Regions from separate parts of the Homo sapiens genome. Here all the other regions are linked to region 1. The links are contacts of gene promoters, found by promoter capture Hi-C in human tissues and cell types (Jung and others, 2019). All regions are on one chromosome and are shown on one strand. Each heading gives the region's core, a stretch centred on a gene start or on the middle of the fragment in contact. The rest is flanking DNA. Distances are from core to core; before and after follow the strand shown.

Region 1 (2,805 bases), core at 274-2,773:
CGCTGGTGGCTGGTATTTCATTGTTTCATAAATATTTTTATATAGTGACACTATCCAACTTTAAATAAATCTTTTAAAAAAGGCAATTTAAAAGCAAAGAAAATTCTGATCTGGATTTCATTTATTTTCATGAGAGGGGAGGTGTGAGTCCTCATTGTTTTCGACTCATTAAAAATATTGCTTTGATTTTTTAAAAATACAAAAGTTATTTTTTTAAAAAGAAGAAAAGTCACAGAAGTTAAACTTTCTTTAAAGCGGGACTCTGGACTTTTGAAAACAAGTGTTGCTGTTACGAACAAAGACTAGAAGTGTACCCAGATTTTCTCCCCCCCGGGGATCATTTCTCTTCCAATCAACAAACAAATCCCCCAGTATTTCCTACCGAAAGGGAAGGGAAGTTTTCCAGGGAGAGTCTCCTCCTGGGTTTGGTGGTAACTGCGACTCAGTCTTTTTTGGACACAATGTTTCTGCTGACTCCTGAAAATTTTCCACTTGAATGTGCAATGAAGCGGCGGCGGCAGCGGCAGCAACAGTCCTGGAGAAGCGGCAAAGACGACCGTGCCCTTTTTCATCTTTGAGAAGAAGGAGCGAACCCCCCGCCAGCGGCACAAGTCTGCGCAGACCCGGGCCGGCCTCGGGGGTACCCGGCGCCGGGGGGCGGCGGCGAAAGCAGGGGGGTGCAGGCCGGCTCCGGGCTCCGAGGCGGCGGCTCTGCCCGCCCGCGCTCGCTCCGAACTTCTGGCTCCCCAGCGCACCCCGTCCAAGGCGCCCGAGGGTGTGTGCGTGTGTGCGCGTGCAGGCGGCGGGAGAGGGGGCGCGCGGGGGGCGCGGCGCGGCCGGCCGGGGGCCGCCTGTTGCCGCGCGGGCTCCCAGCGCGCGGCCCAACTTGGCGTCCTGGCAAGTCGCGCGGCGGCGCCCGGCCGCTCACCTCGGAGGGGGCGCGGGGAGGCGGGTGTGGGGGCCCGGCCGCGGCCCTCCGCGTGCCCGCCCGCCGTCGCACACAAAGCAGAGCCCGCAAAGAAAGAGCGGCCCGCGAGGGACGCGCCGCCGGCCCCCCGCTGCCCCGTGCGCCCCCCGCACCCCAGCATCCGCCCCGCGCGCCAACTTACCTCGGCCCAGGGAGCCACCGCAGCGCCCGGCGAGTCCGAGGCAAACTTCGGCGCCGCTTCCCCCGCCCTCTGCTCGGTGCCCGGCTCCCTCCCCGGCTCCCGGTCCCTGGGCCCGGCCACCCCACCCCTGCCTAGCACCGCTCCTGCCCCGGGGCCGGCTGGCGCGCTGGGCTGCTGCCCGCGCTCCGGGCAAAGGTGGAGGGGTGGGGGGGCGTCACTGCATGGCCTGTGCCTGGACGCGGCCGCCCCGGGCCCGGGCCCCGCCGCGCGGAATGGCCCGCAGGGTGGAAGCGAGTCTGCAAAGTGCTTGGTGGGCGCCCGCGGCGGGCGGCGGGGCCGCGGCGGCGGCAGCAGAGGCTCGGCTCGGCTCAGGCGGCGCGGCGCGGCGCGAGCGATGCTAAGAATGTTCGGAATGAGGACAGGAATGAAATGAACGCCAGGACCGAACTCGCTCCGGAGGGGTGGGGCCTCGGTGACGTCATGCGGCCTGCCGCCCGGGGCTGGAGGCGGGGCCTGCCGCCGCCGGTGACGTCATGGGGAATCGGGGCGGACCGGCGCGGCTGCTTCGCCGTTGGGGCGCGGGCTTTCGGCAGCTGGGCGGAGTCTCGCGCCCACGGGGGAGCGTGGCTCGCGCGGGAGCCGCCCTCCGTCTCCCGGCGCGGGCTCCGGGCTTTGTCCCGAGCCGGGGCGGGGCGGGGCGGGGCGGACGGGAGCTGCGCGGCTTGGAAGTCCCTGCGCTCGCGCGAAGAACTCTGGAAGCCTGGGTTTCTTCCAGGGGGCAGGCGCCGAGGCGGGAGTTGCGCGCGACGCGCCTACCGTGCCTCAGTTTCCCTAGTCCGGGACGCGGAAGCGCGGGTGACTGCGTTGAGTGCTCCCGGACTCGCGGAAGTCTGCAAGTGTAGGGTAGAGAAGTTGCCTTTCTGGTGATGCAGATTGTTGCTCTCGAGCGCGGTGGACGCCGTCTCCGGGCCAGATTCCCAGCCTGCCATTTCTTCTCTTCCCTTTCACTTTTATAAAAGTTCACAGCTCTCACTCAAGTCGAAATCTGTCTTACGGTTGGGAAAGGAAAACCTTTAGCTTAGCAAAGAAGGATAATTACAGAGTTCGTAATAAACCTGCCCTGCTAGCAAGGTCTTCTCCAAGTCAGTTAAAAAACTAAGTTCACTCATCTCTGCCGGTTGTACTTTTCAAAAGTAACTTCCTAAACTTTGAAATGCTGCATCCGGCGACTTTAAGTTAGCCCTTTCATTATTGAGAAACTTCATTTCATTATTAAAGGAATCATTTTAACCCTGCCATTGGAGGTAGTGACGCAAAAGTGACATAGACGCAGTCGGTAAATCAGAAAACGGGTAAAATCGACCCACTGGGGACAGAACCGTCTAAAGTTTCGGGTGATTGTTATAATTATTTAACAAACTGCAAAGCAGTTCCCGCACAGTGGACCTCATTCGTTCTAGGCACTTGGCTCTCTTTTCCAGCTGAGGCCTCAGGATTAAATAACAACATATTTTGTGCCCGAGGAATCCCTATATCCCTATATATGGGTAACTGAGGAGACTAGACTGTGACTGAGTGCAACACATTTCTACAAAACATAACTTTTACTAATACATTGTTTTCCTTTTTTTTAATTTTTTTTTTATTTTATTTTTGGAGACAGGATCTTGCTCTGTCACCTAGGCTAGAATGCAAT
Region 2 (2,712 bases), core at 155-2,654, 170 kb after region 1:
CTTTAAAGACACAGATGTTTGTAGTGTTACCTGTCTTACCTGGACCACAACCACTTGGATGGAAACATGGTCTGGGAGTCGAATTGGTGCGCGGAAATACTGAGACAGAGCAACGAGCAGGTGTAAGATGGCCACCAGGCTCTTGGCATGAACAGCTGAAATGAAAGAAGATTGAAAAATTACAGCATCTTCTTCCAGGTTCTAGGCAATATAAGCAGATGTTCAAAGTGTAGTAGTACCCCACTGATAGAGTTTGGATATTTGTCCCTGCCCAAATCTCATGCTGAAATGTAATCCCCGGTGTTGGAGGTGGGGCCTGGTGGGAGGTATTTGGATTGTGGGGGTGGATCCCTCATGAATGGCTTAGTGCCATTCCCTTGGTGATAAGTACACTCGAGCTCTCACATGTGATCTGGTGGTTGAAAAGTATATGGCACCTTCCTGCAGCCCACTCTCTCTCTTGCTCCTGCTTTTGTCATATGAAGTGCCTGTTCCCACTTTGCCTCCTGCCATGAGTAAAAGGTCCCTGAGGCCTCCCTGGAAGCCAGGCAGATGCCGGCCAGTTTAAACCTCTTTTATTTATAAATTACCCAGCCTCAAGCCTTTCTTAATGGCTATGCATGAACAGCCTAATATATCCACCCAATGTCCCTTTATACCATGCCTGAGGGTCAGGGGACACCTGTGGTCATCACAGGCCTCACTCTGGGCCCCCTCAAATCTTTCTTTTTTTTTGAAGCAGGGTCTTGCTCTGTTGCTCAGGCTGGAGTGCAGTGGTACAATCCTAGCTCACTGCAGCCTCGAACTCCTAGGCTCAAGCAATCCTCCCGCCTTGGCCTCTGTGGAGTAGCTGGGACTACAGGGATGTGCCACCATGCCTGGCCCCCTCAGTTCTTTGCCAGGTCCCATGGGGCTCCTTCTTGGGTCATATTATTGCCAGATTTCCAATGTGGCACCTCTCTAATCCCAGGTTCCCATGAGGATCCTGACAACTGCTGAGCTCTGAGCTCAGATCAGCTCTCTCCCGGTCCCATGTCCCTGCCCACTCCACTCCAATCACCATAAGCATGTCTGCTCTGCACTCCCTCTCCCTTCCCACTTAACCATGAACTCTGGATTATCACTACTACCCTTGTCTCAAGACTGCACATAAAGCACGCCCTTAATAAATAAACATTGAGTCAGGAACACTAGGTCTCTTCCTTGGTTCAGGGCTTTAAGATCCCTGGAAGAAGCCATGAGAGAGACATTCAAAGGGCTATGTTACTTGGCTTGAGTGTCACTATGGTCACTGTAGGCAATGCCCTTTAAGGAGCAGCTGGGACGGGATGTTACTGAGCCAGGGGGCTGCCAAAGCTGCTGAGTCATGTGCTCAAAGTCAAGCCATTTACACCAGAGAAGGCAGGGTCACACTGGGTTGTAGTTTTCTCACTAGATGAGGAGAAAAAGACTCAGTGAGGTGCACAGAGGGTCAGGCAGACTGGAGCCTGAATTCTAACTTTATAATCTACCACTTATTTACTGGCTACATGGCCTTGGGTAGGGTAGGCCACCGAAGGCCTCTGAGCCTTAATTTGCTCATCTTTACAAATGGAGGTAACAGAACCTATGTGGATGTACAGGTTGTAAAGATTCCCCAAAAGCCTTCATTAAAAAAAAAAAATGAAAATAGTTACACTAGAGTGGATAGTCTTAATTTTTTTCCTATTTCAAAATATTCTTTAGAATAAAAATCTGCCATCTTTTCAATTAAAACAAATTCTAGCCACTGTTGAACATTTGTGTGCCCCTATCATTCCTGCCTCTCGACATGTCTCCTGGGAGTTTTCTCTCTGATGCTCCTGGAACACAACAGGTGGCCAGGAATGGCTGATTTTTTTTTTTTATTATACCTTATGTGAAATTACCTGGCACCTAGGCAACTAAAACATGCCAGCTTTATTCCCTTTCTTTCTCATCAAAGGGAAGATTCATCAGATATTTTGCCTGCCTTCACAGTCCTACCAGCTTCACGGCTCTTCATTACAGGGGGCATTTAAGGGAATAACAAAAAAAAAATGCCTATTTTGTGTACTTCGCATGCACTAGGCCCATTATTAGGATGTCATTCTGTCTTCCCTGGGATCAGTGAGTCTGATTTAGCAGAAGCTTTGAGAAATCACTAAGAAAAGAGAATGATTCAGACATTCCTTTGTAACTCATTAGGGTTTCTGGTTATCACTGCTACTTCAAAGAAGGTTTTCTACTGATTATGAACAGCAGCTCACCATCACCACAAACAGAAGCTGAACTGCTCTGAACTCCTAGCCTTCCAGAAGGTTTCAATTTTGGGCTTTCGGGCCTTGTTAACTAAGTTTTACCCAGACTTACAGCCTCAAAAAAAGATCCTGATGTGGCACTGACCCACTGTGACCCACTGACATGGTGTGGTCACCATCAGAGGCAAATCCAGGTTTGCTCTTCTCATCAGAACTACCGGCCCACCACCTGGCGTCACTGAGGGTTGTAAGAACATTTGCTACCCCTCTCCCCTTTAATGGCAAAATATAATGCTAGAAAAGTTGTGATCAAGTAAGTTGTTCTTATACCCTGGTGACATTGTACACCATCTCCATTGTCTTAGTGAGCAATGCAGAGCTATACCATAAGCATCATATAGATGTCAGACTCATTCAATGAATGCTCTATCCTCCTGGGATTTTTTTTAGAAAG
Region 3 (2,850 bases), core at 245-2,744, 240 kb before region 1:
AGTTCGAGACCAGCCTGGGCAACATAGGGAGATGCCATCTCTACAAATAATTTTTTTTTTTTAATTAGCCGGACATGGTGGCATGTGCCTGTAGTCCCAGCTACCTGGGAGGCTAAAATAGGAAGCTTCCTAGAGCCCAGGAGTTTGAGGCTGCAATGAGCCATGATTTGTACCACTGCACTCCAGCCTGGGTAACAGAACTAGATGCTGTCTCAAAAAAAAAGTAATTAAAAAAATTCAACACTAACTTCACCAATTATTTAGGACTCAGGCCAACAAAGGAGGTTTTGTCAGTTAATATGGTGATAATAAAAAGAAAATTGATTTTTTAGATGGTTTTGCCATTGTTTGTAAATTCCCTACAGCCAAGCAAAGTCCTTACTGCTTGCAGCTGCGGCAGACCATTCCTACCACCTCACCATTGGTTTACCATTATCTCTTAGAACTCCCCAAACAACTTTAATATAGCTTCCATTTGGAATGGATGATCTGTAGTTACAATGATAGAATTATTCAAAACAAAGTTATTAAAGAATACCCAACCTACCCTCAGAAACCATCCCAACAAATTACATGTTTTAAAGCTGTCAAAGTTAACAGTTTTACATAAAATTAAAATATACATTCAGAAAAGTACACAAACTGGAAGTTTACAGCTTGATTAATTTTCATCAAGTGAGCCAGCACCCAGATGAAGAAATGGAAGTCCCTCTCTCCCCCAAATATCCTTCCTTCCAGGCACAATCATCTATACACCTTGCCAGCGTAACCATGATCCTGAAACATCACACATTAGTTTTGTCTGGTTTCTGAACTTTAAGCAAGTGCAACAGGGTTTACAGTGTTTAGTTTTGTTTACTCAGCATTTTATTTGTGAGACTCAACCATGTTGTTGTATATAGTTCATTCATCCTCATTACTGTAGAATATTCCATTGAATGAAAAATGCCACGATCTATCCACCCTATTACTTAGGGACATTTGCGAGGCTTCCAAATGGACCTATTAAGAAGAGTGCTACTATGAACGTTCTTGAATATGCTTTTGAGGGACATATGGATGTGTTTCTGTTGGACGTTCCTAGGAGTGTAATTACTCGGTCATAGAGTCTACGTGCATTTTATCCTTCATTTAGATAAGAGGTAGGGAGAAACAGTCTGAGAAAATTCTCTATTTAATTATTAGTGTAAATTTAAGAGATTAGATTTTAAAAGGCTTCCCAACTAACAGTAAATAACCAATTTGCCATTACAACTGCTTTGTAATTACCCTTGAACATGGAAAATAATTATGTAGCTATCCAACCATATCACAGATGCTCTTCAGGAATTTTCTAGGAGGAAGTATTGATGTAAAATATAATTATCAAGATATATATATAATTATCAAGATATATATAATTTTATATATATATAATTATCTGTCAGCTGATAGTGTTATGGCTATTCCAGAAAGAAATGCAGTCACTGAACTCCCATGAAGTGAAGGTAATATCAAAGAAAGAATGCTAGCATTAAGTCAACAACAAAGAAGTCTGGGATTTGCAGAGTTCATTATCTACCCTACTGACACGTCCCCCCTCCCAACTGAAAATCACTCCAGGTGGAAAGCAAACCTATTTCATGTAGTTCTGAAGGCAAGAAAATGAGTTTTTAAAAATGTACCACTATCAGAGATACAAACTATTTCTGCCTAATCAGCTTTTACCTAACCACAGGATATTTTCTAAAAGTAAATAAAAACAAAAATCCAAGAAACAGTTGAAAACTAGTAAAACTTATCTTTCCAATAAATTCCAAAGTCAAACCATATCCCATCTTCTGGGCACAAGCTAGCCAAAAAGGCTGGTCATAGGCCAGGTTCTGCAGTGTTAAAAAACAACACTTAGAAATATGGCTGGGGAAGGTAAGTCCAGGGAAATGAGTCCTTCTAAGAAATCTTCTCCCTGTTTGCTCTAGAAACAGAGACCCTAAACGCTAAGCTGAAACTTAGTTCAGAGGTCAACTCTCTCCTACCTCCAAAAGCAGAAATCCTTTCCACAGCATCCTGACCTGCACTGCCTTAAAGCTAAATACTTTCAGACACAGGAAAATCACTTCAATAATGCTGCTGGGCCAGGCACGCTGGCCACTTACGCCCAGGAGTTTGAGACCAGCCTGGGCAACACAGCAAGACCCCATCTCTATTTATAAATAATAATAATATTGCCAGACAGCCTTAACTGTTAATGCTTTTTTCTGTTATATTAATTTTCTCTGCTACAAATTATCACACATTTAGTGCCTTAAAACAAGACAAACTAATTATTTTATATTCCTGTAGGTCAGAAATTTAATTCAGCTCCAGGCTGGCTAAGATCAAGGAACTAGAAGGGACGCAACTCCTTACTAGACAGAGGCTCTGAAGAGGGTTCTGTTTCCTTGCCTCTTCCAGCTTCTGAGACCACCCACATTCCTTGTCCCGGAGCCCCTTGCTCCATTTTCAAAGCCAGAAACACCAGCCGAATCCTTCTCACATTGCCAGCTGTCGTCTCTCTGGATGTCTTTTTTTGTCTCCCTCTTCTGCTTTAAGGGACCTTGGGACCATGCTAGGCCCACTTAGATAATCCAAGATATTCTATCTGCTGATTAACAACTTTTAATTCCCCTTTGCCATGTAATGTACCATTATCCACAGATTCCATGGCTACAGAGGAGGCATGTCTGGGGATCCATGATGCTGCCTATTACATCTGTTAAGTTGAAATGAGCTCCTCTGTAACTTCCATCCAGAACTTCGGGTACCACAGACCGAAGAACACTTCTGTAACACAATTCTGCAGTTTTCTCTCCTTTCCTCCTTAACTTCACC
Region 4 (2,700 bases), core at 91-2,590, 200 kb after region 1:
CCAATTAAGCACAGAAAGGCCATTTTCTCAGAAGGCGTTGGTCACCAAGAGGTTCTTAAAGAGCTAATACAGCAGCTGCAATCAACCTTAATAAAAGCAGCGTCCCATCTTTCCATTTTATTTTTTTTATTGACTCTGGCCTCACCAATTGCCAGCATAGACTTGCAAGAAATCCTAAGCACAAGGCAGCCACTTACAAAGAGTTCTTTCACCTCAATACACTCACTGATAGCTGCAGTTGGACTGGAAGGAGACTGAGAAACAAAGGGAGTGAAACACTCTCTACGCCCTAAGAGACACAACTTGCATGGCGAGGCTGGTATTTAGTACCTTTGCAGCAGGTCTTTGACATTCACATAGGGTACCAGCCAGTCACCACCTTGATCTCCACATTCACAGACACCGACTATTTCATAGAATTCTCCATAAAACATGACAGAAACACAGAAGGGGTACCTTCAAAGCTTAAATCAAGCTTGTCCAACCCACAGCTCACGGGCTGCAATGTGGTCCAGGATGGCTTTGAATGCAGCCCAACACAAATTCATAAACTTTCTTAAAACATTATGACATTATCTGGAGATTTTTAATAGCTCATCAGCTATCATTAGTGTTTAGTGTATTTTATGTGTGGCCTAAGACAATCCTCCTCCTTCCAATGTGGCCCAGGGAAGCCAAAAGATTGGACATCCCTGGCTTAAATGATTCTGTAGGTACAGATTGTGTTTGTTTTCCAGCTAAGCACAACTGTTTCCTTAAAATTCTATAGTTTCTTCTAATATCTCCCCTAGAACTACCAGTTTTCTTTCTTTCTCAGGCTATTTCTCACAAAGAAGCACAATTTTCATTACTTTGTTAACAAGCATTGCTACGCAAGGAGTGAGCAGTGGAAATAAAGTCATGTTTAAATGTGGCTGCAAGGCTAGGCTTACTGGCCAATGAAGGAACTTGCTCCTGCCTGGGACTTTCTCTCCTGTAGCTACACTGATCGGCACTGTCCAATACAGTAGCTACTAGCCACTTGAGCTATTTAAATTTCAGTGAATTAAAAATTCCGCTCCGTAGCTGCACCAACCACATTTCAAGTACTCAATGGCCACAGGTGGCTGGTACCTACAACACCAGACAGCATGGATGTAGAAAGGTTCCATCACAAGATCATCAAGTATGTTCTCATGATTTAAGTGAGGACATGCCATATTTGGTTTTCTGCTCCTGTTAGTTTGCTAAGGATAATGGCCTCCAGCTCCATCCACGTCGCTGCAAATTACATGATCCTTTCTTTATTCATGGCTGCATAGTGTTCCATGGTGTATATGTACCACATTTTCTTTATCCAGTCTATAGTTGATGGGAAAATAATCCATACAACAAGCCCCCAGGACACAAGTTTGCCTATGTAACAAACATGTACCCCTGAACTTAAAGTTAAAAAATAAAATTTTTAAAAGAGTAAGTGGATAATGTCCTAGGTCATCCCATTCAACTAATGTCCATGTCCACATTTAAATCTCCAGCCTGGAGCTCCAAGCTTATGAATCTAATCACTTATTCAATGTCTCCTCTTAGGTCTACTAATAGAGATCTCAAATGTACACATCCAAACAGAACTTGTGATTCTCAACACCCTCATACCCACCATACCAGCACTAAAATGAACCTGTTCTTTATTCTTATCCTCTTCAGTAGATGGCACCACTGTTTACACCATGGTTCACGCCAAGCTCCGAGGAATCACTCTTAAGTTCTCATTTTCCTCACCTTTTGCATCTGTCCAAAACACTGGCAAGTATTGTGGGCTCCGCCTCCAAACCAGGACCCAATTCCAAACACTTCTCACCATCTCCCTGCTCTATCATCCTGACTTGAGCCACCGTTATCTTTTGCCTGGCCTATCAGAACCACCTTCTAACTGGTCTACTGCTTTGCTTGCATTTCCCCCACTCTCACCTACTTCCCACAGTGCAGCGAGAATGTTCTACAAAAATGTAAATAGGATCATACATTCTCCCACTTCAAGCTTTCTTGTGACTTCCCATCATACTCAGGTCATAGGTAGGAGCTGAGGTTTTATTCTATGAGACTCTGATTAGCGCCCTCCCACCTCCCTCTCATGTTTTATTTTCTCATCATGATCTATTTTCTCATCATGATCTGAAATAAAAACTTATATGGCTGTTAACTCTCTCCCTCACCAGAATGTAAGTTTTGTAAGGACTGGCACTATTTCTCTTTTGTTCACTATTAGATCCCCCATGAGGCCAGAGGGCACAGTGGTTAGAAGCCAAGCTGCCTACGTTCATATCCAGACTCTACCACTCACCAGCTCTGTGGCCTTGGGCAAGTTCATCAACCTCTCATGCCTTAGATTCCTCACCTGCAAAATGGGAGTGACAGCAATATTGCCGACCTCCAAGGGTTGCTGAGAAGACTAAATGAGTTAATATATGCAAAGTACCCAGAAGCATGCCTGGCAGCTGGTAAGAGCTAGGTAAATACATGCAACTATTATTATTACTTAAAACAACACCTCAAGCATTGTAAGCACTCAAGAAATATTTGCTGAATACATAATCCAAACTGTCAAGACCACCCTTCAACTGCACAGGTTATGAGTTGAGGCAGAATTTGCCAAAGCAGAGAATGGGATGCAAAGGATTTTACCTTTTTCCCAGAAAAACAAAATACATTTCCATTTTA

Evidence for each region. The method cuts DNA at HindIII sites, captures the fragments that hold promoters and counts their contacts. A contact is called where the count stands out against the background at its distance.
Region 2: a contact is called between a fragment that was not itself captured here and the fragment with the promoter of TEAD1 in region 1, in 1 of the 25 tissues and cell types used here (thymus).
Region 3: a contact is called between a fragment that was not itself captured here and the fragment with the promoter of TEAD1 in region 1, in 1 of the 25 tissues and cell types used here (stomach).
Region 4: a contact is called between a fragment that was not itself captured here and the fragment with the promoter of TEAD1 in region 1, in 1 of the 25 tissues and cell types used here (aorta).

The regions. Positions count from the first base shown.
Region 1 is chr11:12,673,139-12,675,943 of GRCh38, reverse strand. TEAD1 (TEA domain transcription factor 1) reads right to left here and starts at 1,523. Exons shown (of 13, transcript NM_021961.6): 1 at 1,110-1,523; 2 at 383-535. RefSeq lists an enhancer at 1-696 and a silencer at 1,532-1,831. The HindIII fragment of the contact is 23,361 bases long and covers 1-2,805 here.
Region 2 is chr11:12,501,757-12,504,468 of GRCh38, reverse strand. PARVA (parvin alpha) reads right to left here. Exons shown (of 13, transcript NM_018222.5): 6 at 40-155. Among named protein-coding and RNA genes, the nearest start is that of PARVA, 130 kb to the right of the region's middle. The HindIII fragment of the contact is 7,128 bases long and covers 1-2,712 here.
Region 3 is chr11:12,916,875-12,919,724 of GRCh38, reverse strand. All of the region lies in intron 10 of TEAD1 (TEA domain transcription factor 1), which reads right to left. Among named protein-coding and RNA genes, the nearest start is that of TEAD1-AS1, 4.6 kb to the left of the region's middle. The HindIII fragment of the contact is 7,007 bases long and covers 1-2,850 here.
Region 4 is chr11:12,470,116-12,472,815 of GRCh38, reverse strand. The region is part of intron 1 of PARVA (parvin alpha); the gene reads right to left. Among named protein-coding and RNA genes, the nearest start is that of PARVA, 94 kb to the right of the region's middle. The HindIII fragment of the contact is 3,267 bases long and covers 1-2,700 here.